2 separate regions of the Homo sapiens genome follow, and region 2 is linked to region 1. The links are contacts of gene promoters, found by promoter capture Hi-C in human tissues and cell types (Jung and others, 2019). All regions are on one chromosome and are shown on one strand. Each heading gives the region's core, a stretch centred on a gene start or on the middle of the fragment in contact. The rest is flanking DNA. Distances are from core to core; before and after follow the strand shown. Region 1 holds the start of ETFA (electron transfer flavoprotein subunit alpha). Region 2 overlaps SCAPER (S-phase cyclin A associated protein in the ER).

Region 1 (5,124 bases), core at 1,560-4,059:
TGGGTGACAGAGTGAGACTCCGTCTCCAAAATAAATAAAATAAAAATAAGTAAATAAAAGGAAACCATAGGTCCTGCCACCAAAGCGGCTCCTAATGGAGTGGGAAAGTCATATGCCTCTAGGGAAAATCTTCTAATAGAAATGTCTTAGCACACACATTTCTGTGGTACATAACCTGGTTGTGATTGTAGAACCCTGATACATCCCAAAGCCTCAGGGGGCGTTTCATGTGTGATCAGAACAGGTCTGGTCAGGTGTCACAGACTTTGCCCATTTTTAGCCTCTCCCTCTGCTCTGAACTGCTCCACCAGGAACCCCCAGGGGCAACGAGACTCTGGGGTGAACAGCTGCTGCTGATTTGCCCAAGCCTGGGAGCTGTTGAATCTGCCCAGTGGGGGCAGGGCGGGGCAGCCGCTCTCCCCTTGTATTTCGCTTTGTCATGGGTGGGGAGGTAGGGAAGGAGGTTAGTTTGTATCCCAGTTTTTTATATGGTTTTTAGTAAAATATCCTTTTCTGTTTTTACTAAAAGTACCCTTCCCTCTTCCTTCCACTCCCATAGGTCTCAGATTCTAGTCCAGTGTGGGACTGGTTAGGAGGTAAATGCAGTGAGACATGGAATACTAAATTGCCCCTCCCACAGGCAGATTGACTGGGGGACAGGGGTCCACAGCTCTGTCGGCAACATGAGTTCAGACGTGTTCGAAGTGGGTGCAACTTAAGTTTAAGATGGGTCCTCACCTCCTTGTTCATAGAGCTACAAGAGTGAAGAAGAGGAAAGGATTAATTCATCCTGCAGAATTGAGAAAGAGCTTACAAAAGAAATGTCACTTGGGCCAGGCGTGGTGGCTCATGTCTGTAATCCCAGTACTTTGAGAGGCCAAGGTGGGAAGATCACTTGAGGCCAGGAGTTCGAGACCAGCCCTGGGTAACCCTGCCCCTACAAAAAAAAATAGCTGGGCATGGTGGCACATGACTGTAGTCCCAGCTACTTGGGAGGCTGAGGCAGGAAGATTGCTTGATCCCAGGAGTTCGAGACTGCAGTGAGCTGTGATGGCACCACCGCACTCCAGCCTGGGAAACAGAGTGAGACCTTGTCTTAAACAGAACAAAAGAATTGTCACTTGATCTGGGTTTTAAAGAGGGCTGTCAGATGGGGAAGGGAATTTCAGACAGAGGGAAGAGCAAAAGCGCAAGGCCCTTAGAGTGCTTGTTAGTTCAGACAAAGCTCTTGCTTCAGGGAATTTACACTCCAATGCAGTGAGATCAGCAATAAACAAACATGTGCATCCTGTTAGGCAGTGATAAATGCCAAGAAAAAAAATCAAACAAGGTGATAGGGCGTCTGGGAGTGGCATGGGTGCTATTTTAGGTGGAGAGGCTAAGGCCGGCCTTTCTGCAAATGTGTTTTTTGAGCAGAGACCTGAATGAAGTGAGGAAGTACGCCACGCGGGTAACAAGAGAAGGCCATTTCAGGCAGAGGGAAGAGCCAGAGTGCAAAACTCTGAGAGGAGCAGGCTTGTGTGCTCAAGAAGGCCTATGTATCTGGGGAACAGTGAGAGAAGAGGGCAGTGGGAGGAGAGGGAGCCACCATAGGGCTTTGAGCAGAGGTCATGATCAGTCCATCAGTTTGGAGAAGAGGCTTCTGGAAACATGGGCAGAAACAGAAAGACCAGTTAGGAGGCTTTGCAATGATCCAGGCGAGAGAGGACAGGGTCCTGAGTGAAGGTGATACCAGCAGAGGAGCAAAGGGGTGTTGGAGGATATTGCTGGATTCTGGTTATCTTTTGAAGGTAGAGTCAACGGGATTTGTTGATAGACTAGATAACATTGGAAAGGTAGGTTGTTGCTGAATTGGGAATTGAGACAATTTCTGAACATACCACTTCCCTCTTAAAAATTTCGTGTTAAAGTCCAGACTCATTAGCAGTCATTTATTCATTTGCTTATTCATTCAACACATACTGATTGAATGCCTAGTATGGACCAGGCATTGTGCTAGGTGTTGCAGGTAGACACAAAATTTAAAAGTAGGGCATACTGGCCGGGCGCGGTGGCTCACGCCTGTAATCCCAGCACTTTGGGAGTCCGAGGCGGGCGGATCACGAGGTCAGGAGATCGAGACCATCCTGCCTAACACTGTGAAACCCCGTCTCTACTAAAAATACAAAAAAATTAGCTGGGCGTGGTGGCGGGCGCCTGTAGTCCCAGCTACTCGGGAGGCTGAGGCAGAAGAATGGAGTGAACCCGGGAGGCGGAGCTTTCAGTGAGCTGAGCTCGCGCCACTGCACTCCAGCCAGGGTGACAGAGGGAGACTCTCTCTCTCTCAAAAAAAAAAAAAAAAAAAAGGGCATACTTTCTGCCCTTACAGATCTTCAGTCAGATGGGTGACACAGACAAGTACTTAGGTTATTACAACCCATGTGACAATTGCTACCATGGGGAAATACAGGGGGAAATAGGGGCATATAGGAAAGGTATCTAATTGGAATTGGCAAGGCTCCACTCGTACCTTACCCCGAGGTCAGCTCAGTTTTGAAGTTCACTCTAGCAGTGCTGACCATTGCGGGGCTGTGAGACAGTACAGTCTGAGCTCGGTCATCAGCGGGTGGCCAGCTTTGTCTCTGCCGCTCCGCGGCCCGGGCTTACTCGAAGGTCCCCGGGGAATAGCCTCACCTTTGCCCCACTTCCCAGTCTAGCCCCTAACTTCCCGCCGTCTATTGGCTGCGCAGCCGCCCAATGGGCAGGCGGAAACCGCGGGCTCGTGCTCCCGGCCTAGGGCGTCTTATCTCGTTCGCGCGTCTCGCGAGCATTAGGTGACTGGCTGAGGCGGCGCCAGTTGGCCGGGCACGGGGCTGCTGTAAGGCCGAGGTTGCGGCGGAAGCGGAGACCATGTTCCGAGCGGCGGCTCCGGGGCAGCTCCGGCGGGCGGTGAGTCCGGACTGGGAAGGCGAACCCAGGGACGGCCCCCCGTCAACCCGCCGTCCCTATGGGGTCTTGCAAAGATCACTGGCCCCCTCAGATTCGACCAGCCCTCGCGCCCGCAGGCCGGTCCCCGCCTGGGACTTGGGTCCAAAGTTCTGGGGCCTACCCTGGACTCCCTGCGGAACGCCAGTTCGGGGCAGAAGTCAGAGGTTTGGGGTCAGGGTGACCCCGAATGATGTGAATTTGCGCGTCTGCTGCCCCTTCTTCTGGCCCACTCTCTGCCCTGCCGTTTCCCACCTTTGTCGGTCACTCTGGGCACTTTCGGGCCGCCAGGTCCTCCACACTTGCTCCACACCCGAGGGAGCAAAATGTCACCGGGGAATGCCCTGTTGGGGAAAGTTTCAAACCTAGATTCCTCCCGGAGGCCGGCATTTCTGGAAGAATTAAACACTTTGGGCGCATCGTGGCTACTCCGACCCACTCACTGTCAAGGGCGGGGGTGGGGTGGGGTGGGAGGCTGCGTGGCCAGTTATGGAAGCTGGTTCTGCTTTCTGGTTTATGGAGCAGGGCTGAATTTAGGTGATTGTATTTGTAAAACCTGCGATCCGATTTGACAGCTTTAGCCAGTTTTGAAAGGCAGACGTCTTTTTATATGCTTCAGGCTGACCTGCTTTTAACCAGCAGATTGTAGATTAGGTTAACTGGTGACAGTGGTACATTTTCAGTGTTTCATTAGTGACAAACCACATTTCTCTCTTCTGTTGTGAGAAGGACTGATAGGAAACATATTTTCCTTCTCATGCTGTGGGAAAGGAGTATTTGGAGACTGACCAGTCACAAGTCAAGTAACAATAATTTATATTGTGGATTGTGTAGTTTTCCTAGTTTACATTTAGGTGAAATGAGAAACAAGATTGGTAAACTTGGGTCAGAAACTTACCTGATGGTTTGTACCTTTTCTCCTTTTTTTTTTTTTTTTTTTTTTTCTGGGCATGGATATTTTCCCATCCACTCCTGGGATTTTTCTCTCTGAGGCATAGCTGGAGCTCTTTCTAGATGTCTGTAGACATTAGACTTTTGTTTGTTTGTTTGTTTGTTTGTTTAAGAGACAAGGTCTGGCTCTGTTTCCCATGCTGGAGTGGAGTGCAGTGGCACGATATGGGCTCACTGCAACCGTCGCCTCCCAGGTTCAAGCGATTCTCCCACCTCAGCTTCCCGAGAAGCTGGGATCACAGGTGCGCATCATCACGCCTGGCTAATTTTTTTTTTTTTTTTTTTTTTTTTTTTGTAGAGACGGGGTTTCCCCATGTTACCCAGGCTGGTCTCGAACTCTTGTCCTCAAGTGATCCACCTGCCTCGGCCTCCCAAAGTCCTGGAATTACAGGCCTGAGCTACCGCACCTGGCCTTAGACATCTTTTTTCTTGTGCGTATTCCTTGTTTAATAAAAAGTTCTGACCCTCCCCTCCCCTAAAGAGTTCAAACCCATGTCTTTCAGGTTAGTGTCCTGTCTTCCCCTCAGGACATGTTTTCTCCCGGTTGGGGATCTAGACATAAACAAGTGAAAATCATGAATTTGGGGAAATTCCAGGAACCTGAGCCAGAAGAATGCTGCTCTATGCAGCAGTTGGAAAACAGTTTTGTGGACAGATTACAAGTCTGGCCTAAGTGAAATTATAATTGTGGTGGGGGATGGAATTTAGGACTCAGTAATTTTGTAGAGCTAACAGAAAAAAATGGAATGATTAAGTAATTTTTACTATCCACATCGTTGGCTAATGTGTATAGACATTACTTCCAGATATTCATTGTGGTTTGCCAAAGACTTTGACCTTGACTTATTTTTAAAATTTGAAGTCAAGCTAAGTAGAATAGCTGTTTTTTTTGTTTGTTTGTTTGTTTGTTTTGAGACGGAGTCTCGCTCTGTCGCCCAGGCTGGAGTGCAGTGGCGCGATCTCAGCTCACTGCAAGCTCCGCCTCCCGGGTTCACGCCATTCTCCTGCCTCAGCCTCCTGAGTAGCTGGGACTACAGGTACCCGCCACCACGCCCCGCTAATTTTTTTGTATTTTTAGTAGAGACGGGGGTTTCACTGTGTTAGCCGGTATGGTCTCGATCTCCTGACCTCATGATCCGCCCGCCTTGGCCTCCCAAAGTGCTGGGATTACAGGCGTGAGCCACCGCGCCCAGCCTAGAATAGCTGTTT
Region 2 (5,124 bases), core at 1,753-4,252, 190 kb before region 1:
CCTACTCCCTTTTCAAAAAAAACCTCAGTATTTCAGCGTTTCAAGGCTGTGGAATGCTATTAGAAGAAATATAAGGTGGTGATGTAATAGAGGGGTTGTATTAGTTTGCTTGGGGCCTGCCATAAGAAAGTGCCACAGACTGGGTTGGTTAAACAACAGAAATTGATTTTCCCTCGGTTTTAGATGCTGGAAGTCCAAGATCAAGGTGTCAACAGGTTTGGTTTCTCCTGACACCTCTCTCCTTGGCTCATGGATGGCCACCACTTGCTGTGTCCTCATGTAGCTTCTTGACTGTGCAGGTGTAACCCCAGTGTCTCTTTCTCCTCTTATAAGAACGCCAGTCATATTGGACCAGAGCCTACTCTAACGGCCTCACTTTTAACTTAGTTACCACTTTAAAGATCTTCTCTTCAAATACAGTTATATTCTGAAATACTAGGGGTTGGGACCTCCACATATGAATTTTGAGGGGGGCACAATTCAAGTCACAATAAGTTGCTATCTTATTTTTTACATATATATTGCATTGATTCTACCTGTGCTTAAAAACATACAGTGTAGCATAGAATTACTCTTCTCTTCCCCATGCCAAAGAAATGCAAATAACTTGGAAATGTTATTTCCCACAAGAATTATATACAGATCGTAAATTGCATAGAAATAATCATAGGTTTAGTTCTAAAATTGTTACTTAATGTTCTCCCAAAATAGCTGAAATGGTATTTTTTAAAAAGGATACAGCTAAAATGATTAGATATTAGATTATCTTTTATTGCTGAAGACAAATATTCTAGTAGAGGGAATCTTTGTGGAAGTCTATATTGTTAGGTGGTAATTAAGATTACAATGTGATAAAGATGTGATTTTTAAGTAAGTGTTGCTAAAAATGTATATATAATTTTTTTCCTTTGCCTGGAGTGCTTCTTCTCTTCCCACTTTCTTTTACATGTCTTAAAACTTCAATTTTCTCAGAGAAGCCTATCCTGACCCTTTCCCCATTATATAGTTGATTCCCCCATTATTCTCATAGAGAACCTTTTATCTTTCAAGGTACTTATAATTAAAATCACCTTATTTATAACTATCTGATTAGTGTTGGTCCTAGCCACTCATTTTTTTTTCTAATTTTTAATTTTTGTGGGTACATAGTTTATATATGTATTTATGGTATACATGAGATATTTTGATATAGGCATACAATGCTTAATAATCACATCTGAGTAAATGGGGTATCCATCACCTAAAGCATTCATTTTTTGTGTTACAAACAATCCAACTATATTCTTTTAGTTATTTGTAAATGAACAATTAAATTATTATTGATTATATTCACGCTGTTGGGCTATCAAGTACTAGGTCTTATTCTTTCTGACTATTGTTTTGTACCCATTAACTACCCTCACTTCCTTCCCCATTACCCCGTCCCCCCCACTACCCTTCTCAGTCTCTGGTACCCATCCTTCCATTCTCTATCTCCATGAGTTCAATTGTTTTAATGCTTAGCTCCCACAAATAAGTGAGCACATGTGAAGTTCGTCTTACTTCACCTGGCTCATTTCACTTAACATAAGGACCTCCACTTCCATCTATGTTGTTGCAAATAACAGGATCTCATTCCTTTTTATGGCTGAATAGTACTCCATTCCATATATGTACTACGTTTTCTTTATCCACTCATCTCCTGATGGACACTTAGGTTGCTTCCAGTTCTTGGCTATATTGTGAATAGTGCTGTAGTAAATATGGGAGAGCAGATATCTCTTAGATATATGGATCTCCTTTCTTTTGGGCATATACCTACCAGTGGAATTGCTGGGTCATATGGCAGCTCTGTTTTTAGTTTTTTGAAAAATCTCCAAACTATTCTCCATAGTGATTGTACTAATTTACATTCCCACGAACAGTGTATGAGAGTTCCCTCTCCACATCCTCACCAGCATTTGTTACTACCTGTCTTTGGATAAAAGACATTTTAACTGGGGTGAGATGATATCTCACTGTAGTTTTGATTTGCATTTTTCTAATGATCAGTGATGTTGGGCACCTTTTCCTATGCCTGTTTGCCATCTGTATGTCTTCTCTTGAGAAATGTCTATTCAGATTTTTTGCCCATTTTAAAATTGGATTATTAGATTTTTTCCTACAGAGTTGTTTGAGCTCTTATATATTCTGGTTGTTAATCCCTTGTCAGATAGATAGTTTGTAAATATTTTCTCCCATTCTGTGGGTTGTCTCTTTGCTTGGTGGATTGTTTCCTTTGCTGTGCAGAAGCTTTTTAACTTGATGTGATCCCACTTGTCCATTTTTGCTTTGGTTGCCTGTGCTTGCCATCTACCAATTTTAAGCTTCATGGAGGACAGCAACCATATGTTTTATGCTCACTCCTTTTGACCTATATTTCCTAGTACTGAAACAATTAGCAGTGAGTAGCATTCAGCAAATATTTATAAAATAATATTTGTAGAATAGTTGAACCATCAGTATGTTTCAGACTACAGATATCATTTGGTTATAGTTTAATGCCTGGGAAATTGGGCTAACTTCTGTTTGTATTTCTGTCTAGAATGTGGCAGATCAGATTGCATTTCAAGCTGCTGGTGGATTAACAGCCCTTGAACACATCCTTCAAGCAGTAGTCCCAGCCACAAATGTGAACACAGTTTTAAGAATTCCTCCTAAGTAAGTATAGTTTCTTAATCTATTTTTTACGTTTCATTTGTGAGTCATTTCTGCCCTATGGTTTCCATATGGAGAACCACAAGAAAATTGTATGTGTATTCAGGGTTGAATACCAAAATCTTACACTCCCCATTAGGGAGAAAAACAGAGGTGCTCAACGTCACTTACGAAACTCAAATTGAGCCTAAAAAGCCTTATAAAGGAAATCTCTTTGGTCTGTGATGTGCTCTAATCTGAAATCAAGAAGAATTGATGAACTCTTGAGCAATTCTAACTGCTTCCAAAAATTGAGCAAAATAAATAATAGTAACAGAAAGCTAACTTACTGTGTTACATGTGAAAAAAGAGGTGAGTAAGTACATTAGCAAAAGTCTGAGCTGTGAAATTGCAAGAAGTTCCTACCATACAGGAAGAGCAGTCAGAGGCGAAGAGTGCCATAGTCTAGCATCCCAGCCAAATTGCTGGGAACTGAGTTGCACGTTGGTCTTTAACGGTAAATTGCTTTCCTGTTCTCTTAAGTCCCCCTTTAGTCCCTGGCCACCTGGGGTATAGCAGCAATGTTGTTTCAGAAGTATTGTGTTCCTGGGTTGTAACGTCTGCAGTTTCTGGGTATTTTGTGGAGACTCTTATTTACAGAGTTTAAATAAGAGGTTTTAATAAAAGTTCATTTAGGCAGGGCGCAATGGCTCACATCTATGATCCCAGCACTTTGGGAGGTCAAGGCAGGAGGATCACTTGAGGCCAGAAGTTCAAGGCTAGCCTGGGCAATGTAGCGAGACCCCGTCCCTACAAAACATTAACAAATTTAGCCAGGCATAGTGGCACACACCTGTAGTCCCAGCTACTCAGGAGGCTAAGAAAGGAAGGATCACTAGAGCCCAGGAGGTCAAGGCTGCTGTGAACCATGATTGCATCACCACATTCTAGTCTGGGCAACAGAGCAAGACCCTGTCTCAAAAAGAAAAAAAAAAAAGTAAATGCTTCATTTGTCCATTGGATACAACAGGAAAAAAAATTCCAAGAGTATGTTATCTTTTTTTTCTGAGAGGCATTTGTATTAAAAAGAAATAGCATTGGCTTTGGAGTAGGACAAACATGGGTTCTAGTTTTACCTCTGCCAGGCTACTAGCTAAGAAAATTTGAGTGAGTGCCTTAATTTCATTGCATCTGTTTCCTTATTTGGAAAAATAAATGTAATCATATTCACCTCGTGGTGCTACTATGGGACCGGTTGAAATAACATATATGAGACCTCTTTGTAAACTGTTAAGTGTTCATTATAGTGTATATTTGTATATTATAATGTAAAGTTACATTATAAATGTTAAGTGAGAGTTTAGACAGTGCTAGCTACCTGACATGAGATATTTCTAAGTACAAGCTTTTGACATTAAAGATAATTTGGATTCCTTTCCTCTATTCACAAAGATTAATGAAGAATGGTATAGGTATTCTTTAAGTCAGGAAATCTTTCTGTGGAGCAGAAAGCTCCCCATCAGGCAAGTTATAGCATGCATAGTGGTTTTTATAACCCAGAAGGGTTGCTATTCCTTATCAATATGGACTTTATTTACAGGGTGTTGCTGGGCAGGTTATCTTCACTTACTGTATGTTAATTGGCAGGGAGGAAGGTAGAAAGGAAGAAAGGAATGAAATATAATAAATATTTGAAATAAGAAAGGAAATGATATTGATTCTTTGGGAGAGTGCTTTGATAACTGTTAATAATTTATATTGTTCATCTTAAATTCACCTGGAGGTTTTTTGTTTTGTTTTTGTTTTGTTTTGTTTTGTTTTGTTTTCTGGTAGGCTTCAACGTGCATGACACTAAGCTCTCTGATTGGTAACCTGGATTAAATGCCTATTTCCCAAAAGCTGCTATTGTCATTGTGACAGAGTATGTTGTTCTGGTGCTTATCTCTGCCTCTTGTTTAGGAAATGGAAGAGGCGTCCACAGTTCCTATAAAGACCTAAGCAAGAATTAGCACACTTCCTTTGCAAAGGAGCTGTGGAATCTTGAGAGTCCAGACCAGTGCCCTGCAGCTGGTCAGCACTAGCTGACCCACAGGGTCAGGATTAAGAGCTTGTTCCTTCATCTCACTTTAAGCCAATAGATTTGTGTTTTCTTTTCTTTTAAATTATACTTTAAGTTCTAGGGTACATGTGCACAACGTGCAGGTTTGTTACATATGTATACATGTGCCATGTTGGTGTGCTGCACCCATTAACTCATCATTTACATTAGGTATATCCCCTAATGCTATCCCTCCCCCCTCCTCCCACCCCACGACAGGCCCCGGTGTGTGATGTTCCCCACCCTGTGTCCAAGTGTTCTCATTGTTCAATTCCCACCTATGAGTGAGATCATGTGGTGTTTGGTTTTCTATCCTTGCGATAGTTTGCTGAGAATGATGGTTTCCAGCTTCATCTATGTCGCTACAAAGG

The links. The method cuts DNA at HindIII sites, captures the fragments that hold promoters and counts their contacts. A contact is called where the count stands out against the background at its distance.
Region 2: a fragment that was not itself captured here is called in contact with the fragment with the promoter of ETFA in region 1 in 1 of the 25 tissues and cell types used here (mesenchymal stem cells).

Annotation. Positions count from the first base shown.
Region 1 is chr15:76,309,154-76,314,277 of GRCh38, reverse strand. It overlaps ETFA (electron transfer flavoprotein subunit alpha), which reads left to right and starts at 2,809. Exons shown (of 12, transcript NM_000126.4): 1 at 2,809-2,928. The coding sequence starts at 2,890. RefSeq lists a cis regulatory region at 204-625 and enhancers at 2,187-2,236, 2,297-2,346, 2,556-3,056, 3,057-3,557. The HindIII fragment of the contact is 24,969 bases long and covers 1-5,124 here.
Region 2 is chr15:76,502,414-76,507,537 of GRCh38, reverse strand. It overlaps SCAPER (S-phase cyclin A associated protein in the ER), which reads left to right. Exons shown (of 32, transcript NM_020843.4): 24 at 2,564-2,679. Among named protein-coding and RNA genes, the nearest start is that of MIR3713, 82 kb to the left of the region's middle. The HindIII fragment of the contact is 4,231 bases long and covers 887-5,117 here.